Linked DNA regions of Homo sapiens: all the other regions are linked to region 2. The links are contacts of gene promoters, found by promoter capture Hi-C in human tissues and cell types (Jung and others, 2019). All regions are on one chromosome and are shown on one strand. Each heading gives the region's core, a stretch centred on a gene start or on the middle of the fragment in contact. The rest is flanking DNA. Distances are from core to core; before and after follow the strand shown.

The links. The method cuts DNA at HindIII sites, captures the fragments that hold promoters and counts their contacts. A contact is called where the count stands out against the background at its distance.
Region 1: a fragment that was not itself captured here is called in contact with the fragment with the promoter of TMEM229A in region 2 in 2 of the 25 tissues and cell types used here (adrenal gland and dorsolateral prefrontal cortex).
Region 3: a fragment that was not itself captured here is called in contact with the fragment with the promoter of TMEM229A in region 2 in 2 of the 25 tissues and cell types used here (dorsolateral prefrontal cortex and hippocampus).

Annotation. Positions count from the first base shown.
Region 1 is chr7:124,779,346-124,783,772 of GRCh38, reverse strand. LINC03043 (long intergenic non-protein coding RNA 3043) reads left to right here. Exons shown (of 4, transcript NR_167671.1): 3 at 1,697-1,770. Among named protein-coding and RNA genes, the nearest start is that of LINC03043, 9.3 kb to the left of the region's middle. RefSeq lists a silencer at 124-418. The HindIII fragment of the contact is 8,850 bases long and covers 1-4,427 here.
Region 2 is chr7:124,031,284-124,035,615 of GRCh38, reverse strand. It overlaps TMEM229A (transmembrane protein 229A), which reads left to right and starts at 2,549. Exons shown (of 1, transcript NM_001136002.2): 1 at 2,549-4,332. The coding sequence starts at 2,613. The coding sequence ends at 3,755. The HindIII fragment of the contact is 14,772 bases long and covers 1-4,332 here.
Region 3 is chr7:124,853,591-124,858,115 of GRCh38, reverse strand. The region is part of intron 9 of POT1 (protection of telomeres 1); the gene reads left to right. Among named protein-coding and RNA genes, the nearest start is that of LINC03043, 65 kb to the right of the region's middle. The HindIII fragment of the contact is 4,225 bases long and covers 843-4,525 here.

The DNA.
Region 1 (4,427 bases), core at 1,686-4,185, 750 kb before region 2:
TTCCTGGTTTCTTGAATTAAAAGGAAGAAAATTGTTATGTGAGAAATATTTCTGTCACATGGAAATACATTTTGTTTTATTTCCATATTGAATGAGGAACATGAATTCCTTCAGTCAGAATGTCAAAGATAATTTTTTTAGAACCTAATATATACATTTTATTAAGCAATTTTTTCCAGAACGTTTTCAAGGTTAGCATGCTGCCATTTTGCCTAGTCTGCTCAGCTCCAGACAACTGGGTGATTTATTTCCTGAGTCCAGGGATGTGTCTTTTGCGGCTTCCTCCTCCTCCGCCTTTTTGACCACTTCTTCCCTCTACCGTCATCTCCATCTCTCCCTAAGTCAACACTCTTCTTCCTGCCTCAATGCCTCTTGAATCACTTACATCCTCTATCATTGTTCTCCATGTGTGTCTTGGCTTTTTCTCTCTGCCATTCATATTCTATATTTTTCTCTCTCACTTTCCCTTTTTCCTTTTTTCTTCCTGGATTGCGAGCAATATAAAGTAGACCTATGAGTTTTAAAAGATTTGGTACGTAAATTAATAAAATTTTGTGATTTTGTTCTAATTTCAAAGTAGGGTGATTTTAATTTTAAAACAACAGTCAAACTGAGGCAGGATAAGTAAGGTTAGGGAGCTGTATTAGTTCATTTTCACACAGCTATAAAGAACTACCTGAGACTGGGTAATTGATGAAGAAAAGAGGTTTATTGACTCATAGTTTTGCAGGCTGTCCAGGAAGCCTGGCTGGGAGGCCTCAGGAAACTTACAATCATGGTGGAAGGCGAAGGGGAAGCAAGTAGGTCTTATGGAGGAGCAGGAGAGAGAGAAGGGGGAAGTGCCACACACTTTTAAACAAAAGGATCTCATGAGAACTCACTCACTATCATGGGAACAGCAAGGGGGAAATTGGCCCCCATGATTCAATCACCTCCCACCAGGCCCCTCCTCTGATACGTGGGGATTATAATTCGAGATGAGATTTGGTTGGGGCCACACAGCCAAATCATATCGGGGTTATACTGACTTGTCCCCTTGTGTGAAGCCCCACGGGCCCCTCCACAGACAGCCCTACATCCCTTGCATCCTTGTGTGCATCAGCACTTCTTTGGCAAGGTAAGCAGTCCTACAGGATACCAGCAGACCACCAACCAGATGGTTACAAGTTCCTGACATCCAGTGTGGCCTGGGAAAGAGAACAAAAGTTTCTTATTCCTGATGGAATTTCCCCATTCTCCAACCAATCGGCACCAAAAGCCCAAGAAGCTATTAGGTACAAATTCCTGCCTTGGGGGAAGGGAAGGGGGAGGAGAAAGGAAAGTGGGTGGCCGGGGGCTTCTCTGGTGTCCTGCATATGCAGCTAGAATCAAGGTTTAGCTTTTAGTAAACTTTTCCTCATTTTAATAATAAAAAAAAGCACCCCTAGGTGGAGATTTTATATGCTAATGATACACATGATTTGTATTAGGGCATGATACATGCGGTGTGTGTTACTGCTAAGCGCATGCTCCAGCTGCAGGTCTGCCTTTGCATATTTGACCTTCCCAGGTCGTATTTTATGAAAATGTATGTACAGCTCCCATAAAAGGAATTCCTTTGAGGCACTAGCTGCTGTCTGCCTCTGAGTAGCTTGCTCTGCCTCTCAGAGTGTACTTTTGCTTTGCAATAAATAAACTTTGCTTACTCTTACTTTAGGCTCGCTCTCAAGTTCTTTTGTGCGGTGAAGTCAAGAATCCGTACCTGCTCACCAGCAACAAAACCACAGTGAAGTAAGGATATGTGTGATGTGTGTGTGTGTATGACCACGCATGTGTGTGCGTGCACGGTGTACATGTGTGTTGTTAATGTTGCTTAGAATATTCTCCTCCTTCACCATCTGACAGTCTCTGGTTCCTCTGGTTCATCCTTCAGAGTTTAGTTCAAATTTCCTTCAAAGTCATTTCTGTATGCTCCCCTATTCCCAATTTAAATTATACCTTTCTGCTACACTCCCTTAATAATGACCATTTCTCAAGTTTCTGTTATAGGCCATAGTTGTGCTTCAGACCTTATAAACATTATCTCATTCTGACAACAACTCTTAAAGTATGTCTCATCACCATTAATTTACAGATGAGGAACCATGGCTCAGAGAGGCCAAGGAATTTGTCTCAAGTACTCTGGGCAAATACTCTCCTGCCTCTAGGCCTTAGTACTTGCTGTTTCCTCTGCCTGAAATGCTCTGACTCCAGATCTTGGCATGGTTGGCTTCTTATTTCTAGTCATCTTTCTACTCAAAAGTCACCTCTTTGGAGAAGCCTTCCGTGATTACCCAATCTAAATAATTCTGTATCGTATCTGCCTGTTTTATTTTTTCTTTACTTTCTGAAAGTAACTTGTCTGTTTACTTGTGATGGTTAATATTGAGTATCAACTTGATTGGATTGAAGGATGAAAAGTATTGATCCTGGGTGTGTCTGTAAGGGTGTTGCCAAAGGAGATTAACATTTGAGTTCGTGGACTGGGAGAGGCCGACCCACCCTCAAACTGGAAGGGCACCAGCTAATCAGCTGCCAGCATGGCTAGAATAAAGCAGGCAGAAGTTGAAAGGACTTGACTTGCTGAGTCTTCCAGCTTTCATCTTTCTCCTGTGCTGGATGCTTCCTGCCCTTGAACATCAGACTTCAAGTTCTTTAGCTTTTGGACTCTTGGACTTACACCAGTGGTTTGCCAGGGGCTCTTGGGCCTTTGGCCTCAGACTGAAGGCTCCACTGTTAGCTTCCCTATTTTTGAGGTTTTGGGACTCGGACTGGCTTCCTTGCTCCTCAGCTTGCAGAGGGCCTATTGTGGGACTTTACCTTGTGATTGTGTGAGTAAATATTCCTTAATAAACTCCTCTTCATATATAAATATATCCTATTAGTTCTGTCTCTCTAGAGAACTCTGACTAATACAATTGTTGACTTATATATTGCTCATCTATTCCACTAGTTTTAAATAAGCATAAGAGGAAAGAGCTGGTCAATGTCCTTCTCCACTGTACCCTCAGCTCCTGGAACAGTGTCTGGGGTTATCATAGATGCTCAGAAAGTATATAATGAATAAAGAAGTGAATGAATAAATAAATAGAGAAATCTTGGACCTGGCCCTGTGACTTTTCTACTTCATGTTCTTTCCACCTCATCTTAATAGTCTGTATATCATTTAAGATTGTTTACACTGAAATACCCATATCCTTAAAAAGTTATGCTAATACTAATTGTATTATGTCAGGGTTCTCCAGAGAAACAGAACCAATAGGCTGTGTATGTGTGTGTGTGTGCATGTGTGTGTAGAAAGAGAGAGAAATTTACTTTGAAAAATTGGCTCAATAAATTATAGAGGCTGGCAAGTTCAAAACCTGCAGCAGGTGGCCAACAGGAAGGAGGTCTAGAGAAGAGCTGGTATTGTAGTTGAAATCTAAAGGCAGTCTGCTGGCAGAATCCTCTCTTGCTTGGGAAGGGCAGTCTTTTGTTCTATTTAGACCTTCAACTGATTGGATGGGGCCCACCCACAGACAGCAATCTGCTTTGATCAAAGTCCATCAATTTAAATTTCAGTCTCATCCAAAACACCCTCACAGAAACATCACTTATGTTCCTCAAATAACCAAACTACATTTTTTTCACCTTAATGAAGTAATGAAATAATTTAAATCAATAGGCATTTGAAAATTTAAAAATTTAAGTATTGATTAAGTGGCTATGACACACAGGGTCTGCTGGACGCTGGCTTTAAATAGGTGAATGAAATAGACACATTTCCTGTATTCATAGAGCTTATTTGATGGTAAAATAAACATGTTCATATTATCTCATATGATTTTCTTGTGTAACATCAAAAGAAACAACCTAAATTTTCTCCACACAGTGTCAAGATTACACATTTATAGAATTGGTTTTTGTTTCTCTTCACCCTGTAAGTGTGTCTTCAGTGTTTTGCCCTTTCCTAACAGTTTCATATGCAAAGGGCATAGTTGTGTTTATTATAACCTCATTATTATTGCTGGTTAATTTGGAGGAGTGACTGTTATGCTTAGGGCTTCAGTGTCTTTATAAAATGAGTGTAATACTTTCTATATTGTCACAATGGGATGGGAATGCAGTCAACAGAAAGATATAAGATTTTAATGGCAAATGGTTAGGAAACTTAGAGAGGCAGAAAAAACAGAGAACAGACACGTAAAACAGGAGTTAGCACAGTGAGGTTTCAGAGGCAGTTGTGACTTCTCATATGACCTTAGCATTGCTGTGAAATTACGTAGCTTCAGATGATACTGCCTAAATTGAGCAAGAACACCATCAGGTAGGAGAAGCTTCCTTTGCCTTTCTCTAGTTTTTTTTTTTTTTTTTTTTTTTTCCTCATGGCATCAGCTAGGCTGTTCTGGAAATTCTGGCTACATGCCTGC
Region 2 (4,332 bases), core at 1,300-3,799:
CTAACCCACTTGATAGAGAACTACTGTGAGGACAGTAGTGAGCCCAAACTTTTTATTGAATACTCCTCATTAAAAAATTTAATGTTTCATATGTATATATACACACACATAAATTTTATACATGTTCTATTATACTGTGTAATTTATAAAATATATAAGGTATACAAAATAGAAATTTTTAAATGCTGAAATTAAAAATACAGAAATGAAAGCTCTAATTTTTTTTTAATCCAAAAGATTTTCCTACACTCCCTGGGATGAATTCTAGGTTGGACGACAGATTTTCAAGATTTTCCTTGCATCCTTAAGAAAAGTTAGAATAAATAGAAGACTTGGGCCCTTGAAGTTTAATTTGCTATTTGAAAACAATTCAGGTTTAATATAGCAAGTTAGCATATACATGTTTGAATGACTACATTTATGGTGTTATGAAGAAGTGCTTTCCGTTGTCTAAATAGCAGTTATGGAGAAAGAGTGCATTTGTTTGTAATATCTGATAAATTGGGCCCAGGATTGAGTTTATTTAATGAAATAAAAACTCAAAATAAACATTAATCTAGTAGTACAAACATCTAGTATTTACTATTAAATGATCACGATCAGTTATTATTGATAATAATCATAAGTAGGCTTTATGAAGGCATAATAGATTATTATCATTTTAACTAGATTACACACTTCTTAAAGAGAGCATCTTATAACCCTTTATTTTCCCAGTGTAGGCATAGCAAGGTGCTCACAAAAATGTTTACATTATTTCCCTTCAATGTATTTGCTCAGGCACTTGGGCAACTAGATCAAACCTGGTTTGCAACAAGTTTGATGAACCTGCTACCTGACATTTCTGTCCCTCACATGAAAACTTCCTGACATTCCTGTCCCTGACATGAAAGTTTCTCTTAATTCACAGTCAACTTAGCTACCACAGATTGGAACGTGAGGGGCTGAAATAGGCAAGGAGACAGCGTGAGGAGGAGGTTGCCTTAGAAATAGAGGATCAGCCTCATTATGTCTATTCGCCAGAAGGAAAAAAAAAAATTCCCCAGAAAGCCTTTCATCAAGGGAGGATCTAAACTCTAACACAGAACTGTTATCTATCCGCACATGAATTTCGGGGGAAGGAGGAGAAAGAGGGAGGTAATCGGTATAATTCACCCCCGAGGCTCTTTCCAGTTCCAAGACTGATTCAAAATTGGAGAGAATGGTGGAACCAACACACCAACATTCTGAACCCCTTCCACTCTCTCAACCAAGGAAGGAAGGAAGGAAGGAAGGAAGGAAGGAAGGAAGGAAGGAAGGAGATAAAGAGGGAGGAAGGGAGAGAGAGAGGGAGGGAGGGATTGGAGGGGAGGGGAGGGGAGGGGAGGAAGTAGGGAATGAGGGAAGGGAGAAGAGGGGAGAGGTGAAGGGAGGGAGGGAAAAGATAGAAAAAGATAAACCCTGGCCCTTTATGTCACTCTCCATTTCTGGGATGACCTAGTTCTGCCAAAAGAAGAACCCAGCAGCGGGGTGTGCCAGGACGAGGTACTATTCTCCACCTGAGACCCCACAGTAGCTAGAACAAAGCATTTCCTCTTCTCCACACCCCAACCCAACCCAACTGGCCTGAAATCATTTCACAAATTCTGGGGGACATCGAATCTCTGTCCTTGGCCTTGAGTAAACCCAGAAAAGTAGATGGGCCAAGAAATAGATTGGAAAAGTGGATCAGGCCCCGCGGCAGCAATTTAGATGGAGGGTAACGCAGGGGCGGGCAGGCGTGGAGTCTCGAGTTTATTCTCTATGACTGGGACACAGCTGGCTTTGAATAAGAACATTAAGTATACAGCACCATATTTTGGTCTTGAGCCCAGCCTCCAGCCCGTGGCACTCAGCCATTCGTCTCCGCCAGCCAGGCCCTGGCCCTGATTGCCGCGATGCAGGGAATGCCCATCAACTTGCAGTCACACCTGTTAGGTGTTTCTCCACTCAGTGCCTCCGCCCAGCAAGCGCCCCCCGCACGACCGGAGCCCCTGTGTTGAGTGGGCGCACCGGGAGGAAGAAGCAGGGCCGGGCCTTCCCGAGCAGACCCTGTGGGACTCGGTGCGGCGGGCGGGCGCGTGGGGGCGGCCTGAGAAGGCGGGAGAGGTCGAGGCAGGCGGAGAGGGGCATTGGCAGGGCGGGGGCAGGGCCGCCGCTGCTCGCGTTACGTTCCCAGAGCCTGCAGCGGAGGCGCGGGGCTAAGCAGCGGAGGGGATGGGGCTTCCACAAGCTTCTGCATTTCCCCTCACAGCCCCGGCGCCGCCTCCCCTGGCTGGGCCGCGGTGCCCGTTAGGCCGCGCAGGGTGAGAGCTAGAGCGGGCGCGGGCGGGCGGCACCTCGCCCGGGACTGGAAGGGAGGGCGCAGCGGGGCCACGGCGGGGGGATTCCGCTAGCCGGGCGGCCCGCGAGTCCCCTGAGTGCATCAGCCCCCGCTGCCGCGGGACCGCGGCCGGGACGGAGCTCCCTGCGCGCCCCCCGGGGGCCGGCAGCGGCCAGGAGGCGGCGCGGGGCTCGGCCGCTCGGCCCTGCAGCTCCGCGCACCCGGCAGCGGCGGCGGTGCAGCCTCGGGCGTTCGGACAGCCTCCGAGCCCATGGCGGGGAGCGACGTGGACAGCGAGGGCCCCGCACGGAGGGGCGGCGCGGCGCGGCGTCCGGGGGCCCCTGGCGGGCCAGGAAGCGAGGCGGCAGCCGGCTGCCCGGAGCCGCTGTCCACTGCTGAAGCGCCGGCTGAGAGCGCCACGCTGCCCGCCTGGATGCGCCTCTACTTCTACGGGATGCACGGGATCACCCTGGACGTGCTGGTGTCCTCGGCCCGGCGCTTCGCCCGCAGCCCGGACCTGCGGATGCTAGGCTTCTCCTCGCCCTACCGCTGCCTGCTGCACTCGCTCACCCATTTCGCCCTGGAGAAGGTGTACCTGCAGCAGCGGCGCTGTCCCAACGCCTTCGTCTTCAATTTCCTCCTCTACCCCTCGGCCCACGTGGGGCTGCAGACCCTAGCGGGCCAGGCGCTACTACTCAGCCTGGGCGGCGGGGCGGGGGTCGCGGTGGCGCCAGGGGCGCTGGACCTGGCGCTGCAGTACGTGCTGGCGCTCTACCACTGCCAAGTGTTCCTGAAGCGCTTCCTGCGCTTGCGGTACGGGCGACAGAGGCGGCGGCAGCAGCAACAGCAGCAGCAGCAGCAGCAGCAGCAGCGGAGGGGCGCGCTCCCCGTCCCTCCCGGCGCCCGGGTCCCTACTGCGGCCGGAGCCCGGCGGCGACGACCCCGTGGCCCCAGGGGCGCCGGGGGAGCCCCCAGCCAGGGGCTGCCCGACCTACCCCGCTTTCTTTTCTTCGGAATGCACGGCTTTCTGGATGAGATCTTCTTCACCTTCTTCTTCAACGTACTGGGGCAGGGGGACGGGACAACCAGCGGCCACACGTCGCTCTGGTCCTTCTTTATGTACGGCAGCTGCAGTTTCGTGGTGGAAAAGCTCTACTTCCACCTCCACTACAGCCGCGGTTGGGGCACTTGGAAGCGGGTGCCCATCTACGTGATCTTCATCTACGTGTGGGAGCTGTCCTGGGGTCTGGGACTCCGCACGTGCGGGGCTTGTTCCTGGGACTATTCTCACTACCCGCTCAATTTTATGGGCCTCATCACCCTGATGTATTTACCTGGCTGGATATTCCTTAGTGTGTACCAGGACCTAATTTCCAACGTGTTGTGGAGGGTGCAGTACGTACCAGCTAACTAAAACCAAAAAAGAAAGAAAGAAAAGGAAAAAGTCACTGGATTCCCACGAATGGATGCGATTTATTTTTACACATTTAAAATGAAGTGGGTTTTTTAGTCCTTTAATTTTTATACGCTTTACTAAACTCTTCCAAATTGTTTTATTCCACCTTTTAGTTTTTCTATTTGAAACCCGTGTATAATATACTTTGAAACACTACTCGAAACATAATTCAAAGTACTTTATTTGCCAATGTTTTAAAACATTTACAAGCCCAAACGTTTACACGCCCAAACAGCAAAACCGTTATACCTTAACATCAGAATGATGTAGTAGTGTTTACCCATCTGGCAACAGATGAGTGACAGCTACTAATTTTTTTTTTTTTGGCGGGGGGGGATCTTTAAATCAGAGACCAGTGATTTTTACAAGATTTGGCTAAATTTTCTGATTCAGTGATTTGTTTTACTTTCTTTTTAATCTAATTTCATTTTAATTCCTTGCCATATTTACCAATGACTGAAGAAACTCAATGTCTTGTACTCTTGAGACTACAGTTAATAGCTCTTAAAGTGCCTCCGTCTAGCACACAAGTGAA
Region 3 (4,525 bases), core at 1,706-4,205, 820 kb before region 2:
GAACTGGAGTGCACAGGTGCTGGAACTAGGCAGCCGCTTCAGTGCTGGCAGGGGAGAGCTCCACTCACTCAGACCACAGGAGTGGGAGCATGCAGGTGAGCAGGTGCAGGAGCCAGGGCAAAGGCTTTTGGGCACGGGCAGAAGCAAACTCTGTACTGGCCCCACAGCAGCATCTGAGAGGGTGCTGGTGACCCCTGAAGCCCCAGAGGAAGTGTTACAGTACTGTTTTAGCTCTGTCATCCATGGACAGCTTAAGTGTTAACAGCTTAGTGCAGGGTAGCTGTGACTGACTCACACCACACTTGTGGCACCCGAGCTCTTGTGTAGCATCCAGGAGGAATGAGGTCTCAAGAATAAAATGAAGATGGTAAATTCAGGGGATTTCATTACTGATGAAAGTGGCTCAGTGGGAAGGGGAAGTGAAAAGAGGATGGAGCAGGAAGGTAGTCTTACCTTGAAGTCTGGCCCTCTCTGGCCAGATTCTTCTCCCAGGTTACACCATCAAGCTGTCCCTCTGAAGTCAAGCTGCTTCTCTCTGACATCCAGCCATAGTGTCTGATGGCCAGCTGCCTCTCTTCCCTCTGCCGGCTGAGCCTGGGGTTTTTATGGGCACAGGATGTCAGGTGGGGTGGGCCATGGATGGTTTTAGAAAAGGCAACATTTGAGCAGGAAAACAGGGATGTAAGTTCTCACTTTGGGCCGTGGTATCAGGCTTTTCAGCTTGAGAGCAGGGTCCTTGCTGGGGACCTGCCCTCTTCTGCGTAGAATTTCCCTGCCTCCTGTCCCTATCTGGATGAAGCCAGTGTTTGAATCCACAATGTCTCTTTGCAGAGCTAATCTTTTAAAGCATTAAATGGAAGTGATCTCCATCACAAATATCTTCTAGCCTACTTATAGGAAATTAAAAGAAAACAGTAAGAGTGAAGATCTGAATTTCAATGCCCAATTTCCCTTTATAAATCAGTGGCCATGGAGTAGCAAATATATCCATTCTACATTGTATCACAAATAAGTTCACCATCAATACTGTTCTGGGTTACAGAAAAAATAGTAATTAGAAAACAAAACAACAACAAACCAAGTAAGTTTACTCAACTCAAATCAATAAATTAGATTAAATCCAGGGTCCAGGAAGATAGTGACTGTACTTTTTTGTCCTCTGTGTGTATATATGTATGCACATACATCTGTGACATATCAGAAAACACTGACTGTTGAAGATATATTTTTGACATTATTTCCCTGAAAGATATTATCTACATTGATTAGTTTATTTCAAAATTAAATATATGATAAGTTCAGTTCTGGAGGTTTTTTCATAGAGTTCTTTCATAAATAAAATGAATTTACATTTTAGATTCACCTCAGTTCCACACTCTGCATACCTTCCTTCGCCATTTTATTCCCTTCTCTTTCCCTATACTGCTTCCAAACAGGTCTTCCAATGTAGGTCTTTCTGTTTCCGCTTTTCCTGCTTTTCTTGTCTTAGTCCTGAACAGCACCTATCGCAGTGCTTTCCCTGTAGTGAGGATGAAGTAAGTAATAGCTGCTGCTGAATGAATGAATCAGTGAATGCTGTGGATTTTTTTTCCAGATTCTTTTCTCCTTTTTTATGTTCTGCTTTATTTTGCCCACTAGAGGGTGATATGAGCACACATAATTAAGAAAATGTATGGCACTGTGTTTTCTGTGAAGATATCAATAGCATTATATTATTTGTCTGCAATGCAATATGAAAATGATTTTTCTCTGTGTAAGTAATATAACTTTAGATTTTTATTTAATACACATTGACATCACATTTATTTGTTTTCTGACAACCTCTGTAACATTTCTTCTTAATTTAGGAACTCTTCACTCACGTGACATTGATATAAATGAATTCTTCTTGGTACTTTCAAGACAACTGTTTAAAATTACGTTTTTGTGTCAAAATACCTGGAACCAGTACGAAAGACTTTTGTTGTATAGAAACAGGAAAAAATGTGTTTTTATTTTAGTAAAGAGGACAGTATAATGCAATTATAGAATATAATATAATCAACATCTACAAGCAATGTATTTTAGAGCCCGAATTGCCCTTAACTATTTTCTGAATCTCACTTTTTGTTATATCATTCCCTTAAACATTTTACACAGACCCAGTCACATAAACTGAGATTTCAAATCTTTTGTCTGGAAACTAAAGCTTTACTTTCTAAATCCCTACTCTTATCCAGACACAATTGTTAATTATAAAATATACGTGGTCATAATTATGTTTTGGCCTTCAATAGTTCAACAGCTGTGATTTGGTTGGCTATTTTGAGACATATTCAGGGAATTAAAAATAATAAACCTAAAGGGAAATTCTTGACCGTTTATGACAAATCGTTTGATTATTTCTAAAGGGATAGTCATTTCTTACTAGCCATATTTACTTTGCTTTTTTTTTTAGTGTTTCTAGTTTTTTTTTAGTATTTAAATAGACTTCTATAGTTGTTTTTTAAACTGTATTTTTATAATTTTTTGGTTGATGTTTCATTTGTATTTTTGGAATCTTAATACTGACAAGATTAACCAATACTTGTTTTTTTATAATAGAGCATCTGGCACATTTCATAGTATTTTTAGTCAAGCTTTTGAAAAAATACAATGCTGCCTCCATAAGGAATTTTTGATAATAACAACTTATCTTTATGTGAATAACTTATATCTTGGCCTCGAAATTTTGTTATGTTAAAAAATACTGTAGTAGACAAGATAGTATAATAAACACCCGTGTGTTCACCTTATTTTTTAAATGTTTTGCCACATTTATTTCAGACACTTTTAAATTTTAGGAAATAAAACTCTACACATCGAACCTTCTTTGAGCTCCTGCCTGCTCTGGTTTTTTTTTTTTTTTTTTTTTTTTTGCTCTCCTCTCTGTGTCTCCATATGTAGGTTTGTACGTATACCTATGTTTATTATCCTTTTTCTTTATGTATTTTTTGATAGGGTAAAGCCCCCCTCTCATATTCTTTAAAATTGATTTGACTGTTCTCTTTCGTATAAGTTTTTGGATTAGCTTTTCAGATTCCATGAAAGCTTCTGGGAATTTTGATTGAATTGCATAAAATTTAAAGTTTAATTTGGAGGAAATTATCATTTTTGTAATATCAAAGCCTTTTGTATGTGAATATCTTTCTCCATGTGTTTAGGCCTTCTTTCAAATCTTTTGTAGATCATACATACATGTGCTATACTAATATATTTATATATACATATACACACACATATTTTAAAAGAATCACAAAATAATCCAGTCAAAAAGAATGAGATAAAACTAGAAAATTTTATGTTTTTTCCAATGTCTCACTTTGAAGACTATGAGGAAAATTATTTTTTTCTTTTTTCTTTTTGTTCTTTTCTTCTTTAACTTTCTTTATACTACTCCCTGGTTATGATATAGATGTAAGTGAAAGAGGTCAAAGGAAAGGCTTGTATTTTGTCTGCTCCTTATAAAACCCTTGATTGGTTGGGAAAAAAGATCCTTGGGAATGAAGGAGTAGCACCTGGGAGTGTGGGTTTTCTCCTTACCTCCTTTGCTTATATCCTCCATCAGAAATAAAGAGTAATGAGGGGAAATATAATTAAGAGAAGCTACAATAAGCAGAATTGGAAAGTTGATTTGCTACTCATCTTTTTTTTTTAAACGTTTCCTTTTATAGGATTGAGCCTCCATAATCTAAAAGTCCAGAATTCTCCTAAATGCAGATCTTTTTGAGTGCCAGTATGCGAGTGAACCCTTTGCTTTCCAATTATTCAGTGTACAAAAATTTTGTGTCATGCACAAAATTATTGAAAATATTATAGAAAATTACTTTCAGGTGATGTGTATAACATATATGTGAAACATAAATGAATTTCGTTTTTAGACTTGGGTCTCATCTCTAAGATAGCTCATTATATATATGCAGATATTCCAAAATCTGTAAATATCTGAAATCTGAAACACTTCTGTTTTCAAGTATTTCAGATAAAGAATATTTAACCTATATAGTTTTTTTGTTATGTAAGATGTCTGTTATTCAATCCTGAACTTGTAGGGGAAAAAAAGTGGTATCCCTATAGTCATCCAGTAGTCAGGAGTGCTATATTTATACAAATGAATTAAATTTCCTTGTTTGTAACTCCTTTTGCTTCTAAATCTTTCTTCATAAATATAAATGTGATTTAGGTTATATAGCTTCTTTTAGGTAGGTGTCAATATCTTTGAATAGCATTCTGCATCTCTCTCATTTGAAATCTCCATTAAAAGAAAAATCTCAGTGGTCTATAATTAAAGACATTTGTAGACTAAGTTTAGCAAAACATCTGAGATTAACTATAGAACATTTAATTCAAAACTCTAATTAGTTAACTCTTACGTTTGAACTCAAGGAGTGTTTCACACTGTGGTGGTACAGGCACAAATGCAGAAGTTTTCTTTCCATAGAACTTGTAAGATGGAAGATGTTTATTATTTTTCGGTAGTACCATATTTAAAATTTCTTCTTAGCAT